Regions from separate parts of the Homo sapiens genome. Here regions 1, 3 and 4 are each linked to region 2. The links are contacts of gene promoters, found by promoter capture Hi-C in blood cells and fetal thymus (Javierre and others, 2016). All regions are on one chromosome and are shown on one strand. The core of a region is centred on a gene start or on the middle of the fragment in contact, and the rest is flanking DNA. Distances in the headings are between cores, read along the strand shown.

What was found. The method cuts DNA at HindIII sites, captures the fragments that hold promoters and counts their contacts. A CHiCAGO score of 5 or more calls a contact.
Region 1: a contact is called between a fragment that was not itself captured here and the fragment with the promoter of FAM161A in region 2, in 3 of 17 cell types (neutrophils, non-activated CD4 T cells and total CD8 T cells). The highest score is 6.3, in neutrophils.
Region 3: a contact is called between a fragment that was not itself captured here and the fragment with the promoter of FAM161A in region 2, in 1 of 17 cell types (total CD8 T cells). The highest score is 5.6, in total CD8 T cells.
Region 4: a fragment that was not itself captured here is called in contact with the fragment with the promoter of FAM161A in region 2 in 1 of 17 cell types (naive CD4 T cells); the score reaches 5.9 in naive CD4 T cells.

What each region holds. Positions count from the first base shown.
Region 1 is chr2:62,405,478-62,408,177 of GRCh38, reverse strand. No RefSeq gene overlaps it. Among named protein-coding and RNA genes, the nearest start is that of TMEM17, 99 kb to the left of the region's middle. RefSeq lists an enhancer at 21-70. The HindIII fragment of the contact is 8,957 bases long and covers 1-2,700 here.
Region 2 is chr2:61,852,622-61,855,321 of GRCh38, reverse strand. It overlaps FAM161A (FAM161 centrosomal protein A), which reads left to right and starts at 1,262. Exons shown (of 7, transcript NM_001201543.2): 1 at 1,262-1,463. The coding sequence starts at 1,281. RefSeq lists enhancers at 69-118, 859-1,088, 1,329-1,488, 1,649-1,778. The HindIII fragment of the contact is 5,666 bases long and covers 1-1,688 here.
Region 3 is chr2:61,301,451-61,304,150 of GRCh38, reverse strand. USP34 (ubiquitin specific peptidase 34) reads left to right here. Exons shown (of 80, transcript NM_014709.4): 28 at 2,697-2,700. Among named protein-coding and RNA genes, the nearest start is that of SNORA70B, 110 kb to the left of the region's middle. The HindIII fragment of the contact is 1,719 bases long and covers 589-2,307 here.
Region 4 is chr2:61,331,441-61,334,140 of GRCh38, reverse strand. USP34 (ubiquitin specific peptidase 34) reads left to right here. Exons shown (of 80, transcript NM_014709.4): 19 at 170-259. Among named protein-coding and RNA genes, the nearest start is that of SNORA70B, 85 kb to the left of the region's middle. The HindIII fragment of the contact is 572 bases long and covers 1,148-1,719 here.

The sequences.
Region 1 (2,700 bases), core at 6-2,505, 550 kb before region 2:
CCATGCAGACCGACCCTGATGCAATGTGGCAGGAGACCATTCAAGGGCCTGAAAACCAGGAGATCAGGATCACTGAGAAACTGGCTACAACAGGCTTTCAGTTCCCCTCCCAGAAGAATGTTCACCTGCGTACTGGCCCAGGTGTCAGCCAGGCTCAGGCACACACTGGAGAAGCCCCTCAGACTGAAAACCCAATGGGCTGGGGTGGGATTCAGTGCTGCTACCAACTGCCTCAGCCTGCCTCCTCGGTGAACACTGTACCCACTCAGAATCGGGCAAGACATCCCCATGGTGGAATAAGAGCTCTGAGCACTGGGTGGGAGAAGCATTGGCCTCTTGGGACCCTCTCTAAGACTGGGAAAGGAAGACTTCACACCAAAAAAATTCCTAAGAGAAAGAACAGAAGGGAAACAAGCGACTGTCAGTAGGTGGAGCTGGGGGGCGGTGGGGGCTGGAACTTGATGGGGTGGGGCACCTGCTGCAGGCTTCAGGGAGAAGATAGGGCCTGAGTTCAGTCCTGAGCACCAAACCTAGACATGATGAACTACAGTCAGCCTCCCAGTGATTCACGCTGTTTCATGCTCCCAGCCAGTGCCCACGCTGTCCTCTCCAGCAGGAATACCTCTCCCGGTTCCTCCCATTCTTCTTGACTCCATTATGTTCCTCCAGACTCAGCTCAAGGTGCTCCACCTCCAAGCTGTCTCTGACACCTTCCCATCAGATGCAGCTGTCTGCCTCCGTGTCTCAAAGCATCCTTACGCTTCCATCATGCTTGATATCATTGCTTCCTCCCCACTAGATTTTAACCTCCTTGAGGGCAGGTGATAATGTCAGACTCAAATCACATGGTGCCTAGCACAGTGCCTGTTGTGTACTCAGCAGTAAATATATGTTTGAGAAGGAAAGGAGGGAGAAGAGGAAGGAAGAGAAGGATGGATTCAGGAGACAGAAAATAACTCATCATCTATCTTTCTCCCCTTCATTCCCCAAGAGTGGGACTTCAAGCATTACCAGAGCTGTTAGCTAGAACCACTTCCCCCGTCCCCGCCATGTGAAAAATAAGCTGCACAGTCCTAGTCTGAGTTCTATAACATGCCGTTTGAGAAACAGCTTTTGGTTACTGAAAGCAGGCAACAAAAGTGGACGGGAGGAGTCTGTGTTCCCAGGATATGCTGACTTTGCTGGAGAAACCTGAGGTTAATAACAGATGGAAAGCACCCCATGGTAACAATCTTTGTGGGAAAATCTTGTGACCATCAAGTTCCCTGAAAGCAGTCAGCAGTGCCTCAGGAAGACCGAATTTCTGTGAGTAAAGTGACTCAAGGCCATGACATGGGGTCACCCCAGAATGAGATCAGTCTTTTAGAAGTAATCACCAGGGACTGAAGGTTCCGGGTCACCTGATTTCCCCTGGAGTTGCCTGAGGCCACCCTCTGCCCTCACTATCCAAACCTCACAGTGACCAACCTCTGCCACCTCTGGGTGCATATTAGACCTCTGGGTAGCCACAGCCACTCCCTTGAGTTCTGTTTCCACTTCTGTTAAACATTAACTGATGTATTGTTTTGGTTTAGTTTTTTTCTGCTTGCAAAGACTTCATGTGCCCAAAATGAATTAGCCATACTTCTTGGTTCAAGGCATGGCGTCTTTGTTGGTATGCGCTGGACTCAATTGTATTTTAGTTAACCTTATTTTTTGGCCCCCTTCAGCCCATCCCCAATCTCGTTTTTCTCCTCTTACCACAGGACCCATTCCCGTGATTTTTGTGTGTCTTCCCTCCCAATCTGTAGTTTGATTTGCACGCAGGTCTGAGATTGGTGTTATTTTGCGCATATTTTTAAAATATGTGGGCCGGGCACCGTGGCTCATGCCTGTAATCCCAGCACTTTGGGAGGCCAAAGCGGGCAGATCACGAGGTCAGGAGATCGAGACCATCCTGGCTAAAATGGTGAAACCCCGTCCCTACTAAAAATACAAAAAATTAGCCAGGCGTGGTGACACACGTCTGTAATCCCAGCTACTCGGAAGGCTGAGGCAGGAGAATCGCTTGAACCTGGGAGGCAGAGGTTGCAGTGAGCCAAGATCGCACCACTGCACTCCAGCCTGGGTGACAGAGCGAGACTCCGTCTCAAAAAAAAATAAAATAAAATAAATAAAATAAATAAAAATATGTGTAAGTGGTCTTTGGTATACATCTCATTCTGCTTCTCACCCTTTTCCAGTCAAAGTTATGTTTTTGAGATTGATCCAAGTGGATGTGACCAGAGCATTCCTTTTATCTGCTGAATTATTATCATCATTTGCATATAACACATTTTATCTATTTTCCTATTAGTAAATTTCTAGGTATTTTCAAATCGTCCCTATTACAAACAATTCTGCAATGGACATCCTCTTACATGTTTTGTAAGAGTTTCTCTGGGCTCAGTATCTAGGAGTGGATGGAACTGCTGGGTGGGAAGATCTGTCTGTATTTAGTTTCTCTTACTATTTCTAAACTTCTTCCCAGAAAGGTTATACTGGATGACATTCCCAGAGGGTTTCTGTTTTCCTTCACCTTTGGCAGTACTTGATATTATCCAAGTTTTTAATATTTGCCAATCTGATAGGTATAAGCTCTACAGCTACATCTTAACCACACTCTCCTGGTTTTCCTTCCCATCCCTGCCTGTTTCCCCAAAGTCTCAGCCTGTTCTGTTC
Region 2 (2,700 bases), core at 13-2,512:
CTGGAAATTGCTCCCCTGGAAACTTGGCCACACCTGGCGGTGCATATCTCATGGTTCTGGCTCTGGCTTCTGCTTAGAACCCAGTCAGCATCTGTTCCAGCATGGGAAGCAACTGTTCAGCTAAAACCAAGAGCAGCCTGAAGGAAGTGGGGACGTAGGAGACTTTGTAGGTGCTCACACCCAGACAGGAGAACAAAGGTTTGGTAAGGGCTCAGACCTTAGAGACGGGTTCTCGACGATGTGCAGCGCATAACGAGGAAAATACTGACCGGAGGGGGCCGGTCGTAGGGCTGGGGAGCAGGAGGAGGGCAAAGGATAGAGAGGGGGTAGATAGGGAGTAGATAGGGGGCGGCAGCCTCGGCCTCAGTAAGCAGGGGCTCAGGGAGCAGATGTCTGAGACTGCACCACGTCCGCTATTTTGAGGTTTGGCTTCTCTTACTGCCACGTGGTGCAGAGGGAAGGCGCCATTTGATGCGTCCAAATCCCGAGTGGGAAGAGAAGATACGGATGAGGGAGATGGATGTGTCTGTGGTGACTCTTGGGCACTTGTGCCGTTCAATCCTGTCACTCTCAAGCTGAAGAACCCAAAGCAAACGCCAGGTTTACAATACCTGCACTATCACTCATTAGTGGGAGGGTCAGGCGCCACCCAACTCTGGGCTTTTATTGGTCATGTCAAGAAAAAAGCGAGAGGGACAACTGGGAGCCTCCTTCTGATTGGTGGATTCCTGCTAGCCCTCAAGTCAATCAGAGTAGAATGTACCGCCCTCCTTCCCACTCTGGCCCCCGCGGGAGACATGTTAGGTAGCGGGACGCCAACCTTGTCACTCTTCTGAGACCGCCACCCAGTAACACGCCCTGCTTTCCTCCGCCGCCGCCGTCTCCTCCATCAACTGTCTCCTTCTAACATGTTATTGCAGTTAATAAAAAAGCGTTCTTTTCTTCACAAAAGCAGTTGTTTCATTGTATAATGTGAGAAGTCTGCGTTCAGGCGGTTAGACGCAAAGGAGTGGAATAAGTGCCCTGTTCAGCCTGCCAACCTTCGGAACCAGCCAACAGACTCGGTACTGACTGCCATGATCCAGTAAGCACCCGACTCGGGTCTCTGGCAGCCTGAGTGGATTTTGCGTGACTTTTGGTCCCTGGCGGCTCCTGTAGCGTCCCCAGTTACGGCGCCCATAGCAACCGGCTCCCTAGCTAGGCGCCCCCGGGTTGCCAGGGGCCGCACCAGCTTTCCCGTCCCGGGCCAGCGCAGGCGCTCAGGCCTCGGAGGCGGGGCGATGGCCACCTCCCACCGAGTGGCGAAGCTGGTGGCCTCCAGTCTCCAGACCCCGGTAAATCCCATCACTGGAGCGCGGGTCGCCCAGTACGAACGCGAAGACCCCTTAAAGGCCCTGGCGGCAGCGGAGGCGATCTTGGAGGACGAAGAGGAGGAGAAAGTGGCTCAGCCCGCTGGGGCATCGGTAATACTGGGGCGGGACTTGGGCTGGGACCTCGCATGGGCTGGGTGCAGGCTGAGGGCTGTCCGGTTCCCCGCCCAGCTGAGGGCAGGCTGGTAAACGCGGGTCCCTGTGCACATAGTCCCTACTTGGTGGTCCTGGCCCAGCCCCTTCTCTACGCTCACGAAAATTACTCTAAATCGAGGCGTTGAAAAGTGTTTTAATTTTCACCAGTCTGTTGTAAAAGCTTCCTAGACAACATTTATGTTACTCTGCTTCTGGCAAGTGCAAAGTATAGAATTTTACTCTCTACTCTCCAGCATCTCGGGAATGGATATATAGAGATATATCTGGCTATATATAGTAATTTGAGGAAAACTGTTCTGTCAGGTGTGTTTCGTTATTACCTTAAGATCTTGGTTATAAGCGGATCTCAACATAGTGCTCTAAAGATGTGTGTTTAAAACCATCACGTGTTCACTGGCTAAATCAGACACGGATACAGATAAGCAAATCACTGAGGTTTCAGTGTTTCCTAAACAGCTCTTTAGGGTACAGCGAGACGGCCTTTTCACTGATCAGTTTTCATTGTTAAATCTGTTGTGGACACCAGTCCAGCAGGTAGAGGGCAGGGTCTGCCATCTGCTCAATTCACTTAAAAGATGGGAATCTTGGCCGGGCGCGGTGGCTCGTGCCTATAATCCCAGCACTTTGGGAGGCCGAGGTGGGCGGGTTACGAGGTCAGGAGTTCGAGACCAGCCTGACCAACATGGTGAAACCCCGTCTGTACTAAAAATACAAAATTTAGCCGGGCGTGGTGGTGCGCCCCTGTAATCCTAGTTACTCGGAAGGCTGAGGCAGGAGAATCGCTTGAACTTGGGAGGTGAGGGTTGCAGTGAGCTGAGATCTCAGACCCAGTCTCAAAAAAAAAAAAAAAAAAAAAAGATGGGAATCTTGAATTTAAACTAGCAATCTGCAGATAGAAAAAATTTCCTAATACCATGTGTCCAAAGCTTCTCAGACACCAAACTTATGATTGAGGACTAACTGAAATCACTGGATATTTTGGAATTCTGATCTCTTTAATCTACAGTAAAATTGTTAATGAGAACATCTTTAGCAACACCTTTTGTGACCAATCTTTCACCAACAGACAAACAACTTGAAGTTATCCAGAGTAAGGCAGACTGAGACCCTGAACATGAACCAGGATCAGAGTGCTAGGACCGATTTTGTTCATGATGAAGCTACCCCTCAACAC
Region 3 (2,700 bases), core at 199-2,698, 550 kb after region 2:
CAAGGCAGGCGGATCATTTGCGGTCAGGAGGTCGAGACCAGCCTGGCCAACATGACGAAACCCTGTCTCTACTAAAAATACAAAAATTAGCTGGGCCTGGTGGTGTGCACCCGTAATCCCAGCTACTTGGAAGGCTGAGGCATGAGAATCGCTTAAGCCCAGGAGGTGGAGGTGTTAGTGAGCCGAGATCATGCCATTGCACTCCAGCCTGGGCGACAGAGCGAGACTCCTCAAAACAAAACAAAACAAAAAAACTACCAAAGTATTAATGGCTCACACTGTAATCCCAGCACTTTGGGAGGCCGAGGCGGGCAGATCACGAGGTCAGGAGATAACACCATCCTGGCTAACATGGTGAAACCCCATCTCTACTAAAAATACAAAAAATGAGCCAGGCGTGGTGGCAGGCGCCTGTAGTCCCAGCTACTTGGGAGGCTGAGGCAGGAGAATGGCGTGAACCCAGGAGGCGGAGCTTGCAGTGAGCTGAGATTGTGCCACTGCACTCCAGCGTGGGCGACAGAGCGAGACTCTGTCTCAAAAAAAAAAAAAGTTTAATACAGAATTTCTGTCCATCCAGTAGCCAAAGCTTTTCCTAATGAATACGCTGCTTCATAAGCATTTACTTTTCTTCTGGTTTTGTATAATACAAAATGATTTGAATAAAGTAAAATACACTATAAAATGGTATCGCTATTAGATTATTCAGTTATAATTTGTGAGCAACATGATGAATAGGACACTAAATCAAGTATATAATAGCAATTTTAAGATGTTACGATATTCTGGCTGGGCCGTGGTGGCTCATGGCTGTAATCCCAGCACTTTGGGGGGCCGAGGCAGGCGGATCACCGGAGGTCAAGAGTTCAAGACCAGCCTGGCCAACATGGAGAAACCCGTCTCTACTAAAAATACAAAAATTAGTTAAGTGTGATGGTGCACGCCTGTAGTCCCAGCTATTCAGGAGGCCGAGACTGGAGAATTGCTTGAACCCAGGAGGCGGAGGTTGCAGTGAGCTGAGATTGAGCCACTGCACTCCAGCCTGGGTGACAGAGTGACACTCCGTCTCAAAAAAAAAAACTTACAATAATATGAGGTCTTTGTAAAATGTGAGAATAAAACTTTTGGAGATAAGCGAACATCTGAGTAAATTGAAATAGCATGTCTCTGTACAGAATATTGTAAAGATGTTAGGTAAATTTATTTTTTAAAATGTTCTATCAGTAATTCCAATGTAATTTTTGTTTAAAATTTGATGAAATTACTGTGAAGTTATCTGTATGAATAAACTAAGCAATATTATAAGTTCTGGGAGGTCAGTAAATTGGCACTTTATGAAAAAAGAAAAAACAAAAAAGTCCTGGGAGAAAAATTCAAAAGGATAATAGAAAGTTGAACTTCCGTACTAGCTGTATAAACATTAAACCATAATTTGATTTTGGTATGGGAATTGTTAGTTAAATGATATAGAATGGATACTGAAAATTAGTCATATATGACTTGTTCAGTTTGGGGAAAGAAAAACCCCTTTTTCTAATATTTAGGATATGTTTAAAATGTTGTATCTGTGTTAACAATGGTAGGAAAATTTAGAAGAAAATAGGATTGAACGTTTGTCAAACCATTTTGAGGGCCAAGATTGAGGGCTAGAAATAATGAGAAAGGGAAAGAATCATAGATTTAGCTACACAATGATTAGCAATTTACTTATAAAAAAATTGTGCTTAAGGCAAATTGCCAATATGACTCGTCTTGGAAGAAAAACATATTCCTTCTGTGTTTGAAATATTTTTCCACAAACCTTTTTTATTATGTGAAGGGAAAGGTAATTTTAAAATGTTATGTGTCATTATGAAAAGCGATAGCCTTACCCCACTCATTTTTCTTGAAAGTAATTGTTTAGTGTCTGTTCAGTGGAGTTTTTCTATATTGAATGAAGTTTAGCAATATTTTTAAAGTTTAAATTATTCATCAGACATTTAATTTTGCTTAATTTTCCTGCTCTAATCATTTTTTTTCCCGAAAAAGTTGTACATTATACAATACTTAATTTGAATGTCTTCTCCATTTTAGTGCCTGGCATGCATGTGTGAATAAAACACCTCTGCCCTTGTGGAACTGGGAATTTGTCAGTCTTCCTTTCCTTTTCCCTTTCCTTTTTTTCTTTCTTTCTTTCTTTCCTTTTTCCTTTCCTTCCCTCTCTTTTTTCTCCTCACCCTCCCATCCCTTCCCAGATAACAAATATGAGGTGTTAACAAGTGCTTTAAAGAAAGATAAAGGAGAGTAAAGGGTTAATGGTGAAGTGAAGCTTTTAGATTGGGCGGTAAGGAAAAAGCTCCCATTGGATGAGAGACTTGAAAGAGGTGAGAAAATAAGTATCTTGAATTCCTGGAGAGAAATCTTAGTCCTTGAGTTGGTAATATACTTGTTATTTTCAAGAAAGGGCAAGGAGGCCAGTTGGCTGAACATAGTGTGAGATAGGGAAGATGGTGGGAAATGAAGTTGAAGGTGTAGGCAGCTAAAAGGACTTAATGCATTCTAGAAATAACTATCCTCAATCTACTGAGTTTTCTGTCTTTACCTTAGATTACATTTAAACTTAACATACAGTGTGTTTAATTGCTACAACTACATATTCTTATCAGCAAGTAAGTTAATTCTTAAAAACAAATTCATTTCCATGTTTTGCTGTTTTTAAGGAGG
Region 4 (2,700 bases), core at 184-2,683, 520 kb after region 2:
CTAATATGTAAAATGAATTTATACTTCTGAGAAAAAAAGTTTAATGTTTGTGTAATAATATGTCTCTATGCAAGATTCATTAAATCTTTTAGCATTTAAAATTTTAAATGGCTGAATTTCTATAAAAAGAATTACTAAAATTATTTTGTGAATGTTTCTGCTGTTTCAGATCAGTAGTAATTTCACTTCGTCTTCTTCCAAAACTATTTGGTACTTTTCAGCAGTTTGGGAGCAGTTACGATACACACTGGATAACAATGTAAGTAAATAAAAGAAAAAAGTATTTATTTTAAAGATTTTTTTCTAATTATAGTTATCTAAAGGTTTTGACTAACCTACAAGCTTTTACTCTGTACCAGGAAAATTTGAGTTTCATGTGGTTTGTTTTCTTAGATTTTTCTGCCACTTACCCCTGTAGAGATTATATCCTGATCAGTAGGAAAATCTGTGTTTTGTTTTCTTTGGAGTTTGAGAACAGTACTTTAGCAATTAATACTCTAATTTTAGGGAGATTTTTAGCGTATGCAGCTACAGCAGAGTACTTTTGAAGAAGAGCCACACTAAAGTAAACTCTGGCATGCCTTTAATTTTTCCCATTTCTAGGAATTGGCTGTAGACCTAATGTCATGTTTGGGGTAATCTTGACACTACCTTATTACAGGTTGAGTATGCCTAATCTGAAAAATCTAAAATCTGAAATGCTCCATAATCCAACATTTTTGGAGCATCAGTAGGACACTCAAAGGAAATATTCATTGGAGCATTTTGGAATTTGGATTTTTGGATTAGTTATGTTCAACTGCTATGCATTCTGCGAATATTACGGAATCTGAAAAAATTTGAAACACTTCTGGTCTCCAGCATTTTGGATAAGGGATATTCAACTAGTTACTCCATTTATGGAGAACTTATGATTAATGAATGTTACAATAATTCTTCCAGAGGTAGAACTTTTATGTGAAATCGACCCCATGTTTTGGTAATAAGTCTAGAGAAAGTTGTCTACCACAAACAATACATTAAGAAGATGTGTTGTATGCTTTATTCTAAATAAGCTTTTGGAGAGATTTCGGAGACATTTGAATTTTAGGGAAAATTCGACTTGTTGAAGGATTCATTTGTGAGATCAAGTTCTCAATTCTAAGCTTAGGTGGTAAGAACACTTGCTTGCTTTCACAGTGGAGTATCACTTTTATAGTTCTTGGAAGTCTGCACTATAATTCCAGATTAGATGAAGTTAATTCTTCTGAGTCATATACCTTGCTTCTAATTGTTCTTTTAAAGGGAATATGTTTAATCTGGACCTTTATTATTATTTAGAAGTATCTTAGTCTCTTTCTTTGGTTAATACTACAGTAAGAATCCAGTGAAGGTTCTGTTTTTGCAAGGAAGGTCCTTCAGCTTCCAAAAGGAGGGGTAAGGGAAAGCATTTAACATCACTGAAGAACAAGAATAGTGTGAGCCATTTTTCATTGCCTCTTTCTATAATTTTTAAGTGGCTGAATTTCAAAATTCTAATGCAGTAAAGGCAGTCATTTGGTGCTAACACGGGCGAGCAGGTGTCATTATAGTCAGTGGAGGTGGTTCATATTAAGGAGTAACTTTCTTGTATAGAAGGGGCAGTCTCTGAATATTCAGTTACTTAATCAAGTACCCGAACCTAAATATATTGAGTTGAAACTCTTTTAGCTTGTTCCTTAAATTAAATGTAAATAAGCTTAATTAAGGAAAATTCACAGGGTTTCCATTACCACAAGAGATTGGTATCCTAAATCTCATAAACTACATCACTTAAAAGAACTCCTGTGGTTATTTGACATCAGTAACAACAAAAGCTGTCATTTATTGTGAGTCTAGTATGTATAGCAGCACTTAATATTTAGTACATATTATCTCTTAAACTCGTTCTAATGGCCCATAGTTTAAAATTGGAAACTTACCCTTGATTCTTCTAATAAACCTTCAAGCAAACAGACTTCCACAAGACAGCTTACTTGCCTGAAGCTGTGTTGTAGCAAGTGTATTGGAGCTGCCTTCAAACCCAAAGTCTTTTTCTTTCTACCACTTGACCTTTATTTAGTGAATAGCAAGGTGAAAGTAACTTCTGTTTAAAATATGGCTATAACAGAAACACGATGTAAATTACATGGAACTTAGAGAATTTTAATACTTCTACATCTGTACATTTTAGCAGATAAATTGCTAATAGGTGTTATATGAAATACATTATGTTAATTATGGAAGTTATGGACCCTGGGATCTCTGAATGTATATGCCACTATTTGTGTTTTCATTGTAGTATTTCTACATTATTTTGGAACTCAGTGCTGGGTATTTCTTTGATTTTTTTAAAAAAAATTTTGTTCAAAAATATAAGCAAATTAATGACAAAAGATATATGCAGTAAGTTTATTGTATGCCTTCTGTATGCCAGATATTGTGCTAAGTAATGACCAAAGCACATAGTATATTCTTATATGAAAGGGTATCATATTACTTTTAATATTAACTCAAATTAGTCATTGATAATAGTACTTTCACAGGCATTTTGAGATTAAAAACTTACAAAGGTACTTTAAATTCATAAAAATGAAGGAACATTGCTTTATATCTTTTCACCATTCAAATATAAATAAAACGTGTATATTTTTCGTAACTAAAATTTTACATTTGAAGATTTTTTTTAGATTTGCATATTTA